Linked DNA regions of Homo sapiens: region 1 is linked to region 2. The links are contacts of gene promoters, found by promoter capture Hi-C in blood cells and fetal thymus (Javierre and others, 2016). All regions are on one chromosome and are shown on one strand. The core of a region is centred on a gene start or on the middle of the fragment in contact, and the rest is flanking DNA. Distances in the headings are between cores, read along the strand shown.

Region 1 (2,776 bases), core at 166-2,665, 340 kb before region 2:
GGTGCGGCGTCTCCCCAGGGGCGCGGCGTCTCCGCAGGGGCTCATCACCTGTGGTTGTGTGGTGAGGAGGGCACGGTGCGTGCGGTCGCTGCTTGCCCGAGCTGTGCTCTTGATGGGTTGCTGGACCTGCGTCTGGCAAAGGTGGTTTAGGAGTCGTCTTCGGGCGCCTGGATGGACAGTCTCAGTGGTGTGGGAAGGAGCGGCCCCCATGGTTTCTGTGTTCACACACGTCCGCTTGGAACCGACACCCTATCCCTGCCTGATTGTGATTTCGGTGAACATCAGTGCTGCCGTTAGCACTGTCTTCTCCCAGGACCAGTCGTCTGGCCGTCTTCTCCCACAAACGCTCCCCGGCCTTTATCTACCTACCACTGCACCGCCGGCCCATTCTGTGACCTGGCCTGAGCTGGTGACGGGGTCCTTGGGGCGGCCCTGTGTGTCTTCTCCTCTCCTGATGATTGAAATGGGTCGGCGTCTGAGCCGACAGCCGGGTGAGCCAAAGCAGCTGCATTGAGGACTCACTGCAGGCTAAGCTAAGTGGCCTGTACTTCTGCGGGAGGTGGGGTCTCATCAGGGGATGTGGCTGCAGGCTAAGCTAGGTGGCCTGTACTACATTGTGCGGGAGGTGGGGGCCCGTTGGGACTTGGCGTGTGCGGCCGATGCGCCTCCAAACGTTCAGGCACAGCTCTGCTGGGCTCTGGGGTCTCAGCCGGATGCTAAGTAATTCCAGAGCCAGCCCTGTTGCGCTCACCCTCCATGTTGACACTTGATCTCTCTCTCAGATGTCTTTGCATTCCAGCAATAATGTATTAGAATGAAGTCTAACTTCTCCAAAAATTCATGCAGATTCTGTTTACTACTTTACCGTAGCCGAATCAGTTTTTTGTTTTTTTTTTTTAGTATTTATTGATCATTCTTGGGTGTTTCTCGGAGAGGGGGATTTGGCTGGGTCATAGGACAACAGTGGAGGGAAGGTCAGCAGATAAACATGTGAACAAAGGTCTCTGGTTTTCCTAGGCAGAGGACCCTGCGGCCTTCCGTGTGTTTGTGTCCCTGGGTAGTTGAGATTAGGGAGTGGTGATGACTCTTAACGAGTATGCTGCCTTCAAGCATCTGTTTAACAAAGTACATCTTGCACCGCCCTTAATCCATTTAACCCTGAGTGGACACAGCACATGTTTCAGAGAGCACAGGGTTGGGGGTAAGGTTATAGATTAACAGCATCCCAAGGCAGAAGAATTTTTCTTAGTACAGAACAAAATGGAGTCTCCCATGTCTACCTCTTTGCACACAGACACAGTAACAATCTGATCTCTCTTTCTTTTCCCCACATTTCCCCCTTTTCTATTTGACAAAACCACCATCATCATCATGGCCCATTCTCAATGAGCTGTTGGGTACTCCTCCCAGACGGGGTGGCGGCCGGGAAGATCCTCACTTCCCAGACGGGGCAGCCGGGCAGAGGCATCCACCACCTCCCTCCCAGACGGGGCGGCTGGCCGGGCGGGGGCTGCCCCCCACCTCCCGGATGGGGTGGCTGCTGGGCGGAGACGCTCCTCACTTCCCGGAGGGGGCGGCTGCCGGGCGGAGGGGCTCCTCACTTCTCAGACCGGGCGGCCGGGCAGAGACGCTCCTCACCTCCCAGACAGGGTGGCGGCTGGGCAGAGACACTCCTCAGTTCCCAGACGGGGTCGCGGCCGGACAGAGGCACTCCTCACATCCCAGACGGGGCGGCGGGGCAGAGGCACTCCCCACATCTCAGACGATGGGCGGCCGGTCAGAGACGCTCGTCACTTCCCAGACAGGATGGCGGCCGGGAAGAGGCGCTCCTCACTTCCCAGGCTGGGCAGCCGGGCAGAGGGGCTCCTCACATCCCAGACGATGGGCGGCCAGGCAGAGACGCTCCTCACTTCCCAGACGAGGTGGCGGCCGGGCAGAGGCTGCAATCTCAGCACTTTGGGAGGCCAAGGCAGGTGGCTGGGAGGTGGGGGTTGTAGCGAGCCGAGATCACGCCACTGCACTCCAGCAAAAACCAGTCAGGCGTGGCGGCGCGTGCCTGCAATCCCAGGCACTCAGCAGGCTGAGGCAGGAGAATCAGGCAGGGAGGTTGCAGTGAGCCGAGATGGCGGCAGTACAGTCCAGCCTCCGCTCGGCATCAGAGGGAGACCGTGGAGAGAGAGGGAGAGGGAGAGGGAGACTGTGGAGGGAGAGGGAGGGGGAGGGGGAGGAGAGGGGGAGGGAGAGGGAGGGGGAGGGAGAGGGGGAGGGAGAGGGAGAGGGAGAGCGAGAGCGAATCGGTTTTTGTGGAAAGACTGCGTGAATGTAAAGCTGGTTTGGTGTATGCTAATAGAGCTTGAGCACAGGTGATCCAGAAAAACAGAGGGCAACAAGGCCGTTGTCTGTTACTTTCTTTGAAGACAGACAGGTTGGATTTTGGGAAAAGTCACAACACTTCAAGAAAAGAAACTGCTGTAGAAGGAGGAGTTAGAAGCTGTTGGGGAGGTCGAACCATGGGCCCTGTTAGAGGGTGTGGCCAGCCAGCTGTGTGCCGGAAGGAACCTGTGGACCCGTGTGAGCAGATCAGGCCTTGTGAAGTGCTCCACCTCTCTGGCTTGCATGGTCTGGAGGGGAAGTACTTAAATATTGTAGCATAAAACATTCCCCCATAGGCTGTTAATTCTAAGAAGACAATGTTGCTGTCAGCAAAACAAGACGGTTCATATAGACAGGTGCAGGGTACTACAAGGAGACAGAGACCTGCCGAAGCTAAGCAGCG
Region 2 (2,754 bases), core at 236-2,735:
GGTCTCAATCTCCTGACCTCATGATCTGCCCGCCTCGGCCTCCCAAAGTGCTGGGATTACAGGCGTGAGCCACCGCGCCCGGCCTAATTTTTTAAATTATTTGTAGAGATGGGGGCGTCTCACTATGTGGGTAGGCTGGTCTCCGACTCCTGGGCTTAACCGATCTACCCGCCTCGGCCTCCCAAAGTGCTAGAATTACAGGCGTGAGCCACTGCGCCTGGCCTGTGTGGTTTGTTTGTTTGTTTGTTTGAAGAGACAGGGTTTCACCATGTTGGTCAGGCGGGTCTCAAACTCCTGACCTCAGGTGATGCACCCTTCTCCGCCTCCCAAAGTGCTGGGATTACAGACGTGAGCCACCGCGCCCAGCCATTTGTGGCTATTTTTGTTTTTTGTTTGTTTTGGAGACAGGGTCACGCTGTGTTGCCCAGGCTGAAGTGCAGTGGCACCATCACGGGTCACTACAGCCTCGGCCTCCTGGGATCAAGCGATCCTCCCGTCTCAGCTTCTCTTTCTAAAATTTTGTTTTGTAGACAGGGTCTCGCTGTATTGCCCAGGCCGGTCTCGAGCTCCTGGCCTCGATTGATACTCCCGCCTGGGCCTCCAAGAGATGGGGTCCGAGGCGAGCCCACGGCGACGTGCGCGGCTGCTCAGGTGAGAGGACGCCTTCGCGGTCACCACCCGCGGACCTGGGAGACGACCCCGCTCAGCGGCCTCGGCGGAGCCCAGCTGGAGCAGGCGTGCGCGGCTCCCAGCAGCTGCAGGAACAGGCGCCCTTTGGGCGGCGCCGCATGGCAGGGCCTCCCTTTCCAGACCGGGCGCGCATCCCCGGATCTCTTGGGCCGCGCCGGCCGCCGCCCCTCCAAGCCCTCCCCGGGGCTTCCGCAGGGAGCTCGGGATCCCCGAAGGTCCCTGCAGAGCTCCGCAGCTCGGGCCTTTTGGTTACCATAAGGCGGAGACGATGGAACGCGCGTTGTTTCAATGGACAAAAGGGCTTCTAGGCGCCCTTTGGGGTTCTGGCTGCTGCCTCTGTATTTGGAGGCTGTAAGGCGCATCTTTCTACTCACCGGCCGGCGCGGCACAGTTTCGGGCGCCGGAAGCGGGACGCACGGGCGCGAGGGGCGACCCCTATCTCCACAAAAGCCGCGGCGCGAAGTGGTCGCCGAGCAGCCTCGTTAGCGCAGTAGGCAGCGCGTCAGTCTCATAATCTGAAGGTCGTGAGTTCGAGCCTCACACGGGGCAGTCTAACGTTTTGCACTCGGCATCACCACTTTCTTTTCTCATGCCCGTCACGGGCGGCGCCCTCACGCTGGAGGGGAGGGCAGCAGTGCGGGGTCTCTGAGGTCGCCGCCCCGCGGGGAGGGGGTGGCGCGGCCGGGGCGGAGCTCTACGTAGGGGCGGGGCTAGGCTCTCCAGGGGGCGTGGCGAGCTCTGCGGCGGGGGCGTGGCTCGGCGCTGGCGGGGCGGGGCCGCGCTGGAGCGTGCGCACAGGCGGCAGCAGTGGCCGTCACTGGGCGGCATGGCGGTGTGTGCTCGCCTTTGCGGCGTGGGCCCGTCGCGCGGATGTCGGCGCCGCCAGCAGCGCCGGGGCCCGGCCGAGACGGCGGCGGCCGACAGCGAGCCGGACACAGACCCCGAGGAGGAGCGCATCGAGGCTAGCGCCGGGGTCGGGGGCGGCTTGTGCGCGGGCCCCTCGCCGCCGCCCCCGCGCTGCTCGCTGCTGGAGCTGCCGCCCGAGCTGCTGGTGGAGATCTTCGCGTCGCTGCCGGGCACGGACCTACCCAGCTTGGCCCAGGTCTGCACGAAGTTCCGGCGCATCCTCCACACCGACACCATCTGGAGGAGGCGTTGCCGTGAGGGTGAGCGCGCGGGGGTGGCGGGGCCGGGAGGGGCGGGGGGTCCCTGCCAGGTGGAGGCCTCGGAGCTGGGAGTGGCGGGGGCGGTGGCCCCGGCCGGGGGCCACCAGTTGGGCGCGGGGCCCGGCGATGTGGTGTTTTGGGTGTGGGTGGGGAGCGGCCGCGGTGACACCACGTTGAGGGGGCCAGGGAGGTATTTGAGGCGGTTAGGGAGGGTCCGAGGGGTCCAAGAGAGGCAGACGGGGTAGGGAGGGGTTGAGGGCGTCAGGGAGGCATCGAAGAGGCCCTGACGCGGGGCACGGGACACCACGGGGCCGAGGCCGTGCCGGGAGCTGGGGCTGGGATCCCTCGAGGTCTGCGCGGGGCCTAAGCTGACGCCTGGGGGCCGCCTCCTCTGCCCCTGTCTTGAAGGCGAGCCGAGGGTGCCCCGCTGGCCCTGACCAGAGACGAGGTGAACTTGAAGAAATGGGAGCAGGCCGGGCGCGGTTTCACGCCTGTAATCTCAGCACTTAGGGAGGCCGAGGCGGGCGGGTCACCTGAGGTCAGGAGTTCGAGACCAGCCTGGTGAAGATGGTAAAACCCCGTCTCTACTTACAAAAATACAAAAATTAGCCGGGCGTGGTAGCGGGCGCCTGTAATCCCAGCTACTCGGGAGGGTGAGGCAGAAGAATGGCTTGAACCCGGGAGGCGGAGGTTGCACTGAGCCAACATCTGGGCCATTGCACTCCACCCTAGGCGACAGAGTGCGACTTGGTCTCAAACAACAGCAACAAAAAAAATTACGGGAGTAGGGGAAGCCCAGTGTCGGGGGCTCCTGATGGTGGGGGCGTAGAGAGACGGATGGATCACAGCGGTGCGGGCTGGACTTTTGCCTTCAGCAATATTGGATGTAACAGATCAC

The links. The method cuts DNA at HindIII sites, captures the fragments that hold promoters and counts their contacts. A CHiCAGO score of 5 or more calls a contact.
Region 1: a fragment that was not itself captured here is called in contact with the fragment with the promoter of FBXO31 in region 2 in 1 of 17 cell types (naive CD8 T cells); the score reaches 5.8 in naive CD8 T cells.

Annotation. Positions count from the first base shown.
Region 1 is chr16:87,717,793-87,720,568 of GRCh38, reverse strand. The region is part of intron 7 of KLHDC4 (kelch domain containing 4); the gene reads left to right. Among named protein-coding and RNA genes, the nearest start is that of KLHDC4, 47 kb to the left of the region's middle. The HindIII fragment of the contact is 8,250 bases long and covers 1-2,776 here.
Region 2 is chr16:87,382,507-87,385,260 of GRCh38, reverse strand. It overlaps FBXO31 (F-box protein 31), which reads left to right and starts at 1,485. Exons shown (of 9, transcript NM_024735.5): 1 at 1,485-1,856. The coding sequence starts at 1,517. It overlaps TRM-CAT6-1 (tRNA-Met (anticodon CAT) 6-1), which reads left to right and starts at 1,167; the gene lies at 1,167-1,239. LOC124903747 (a long non-coding RNA gene) reads right to left here and starts at 1,328. Exons shown (of 2, transcript XR_007065168.1): 1 at 1,065-1,328. RefSeq lists enhancers at 377-1,028, 1,029-1,682 and silencers at 1,090-1,749, 1,890-2,129. The HindIII fragment of the contact is 7,278 bases long and covers 1-2,754 here.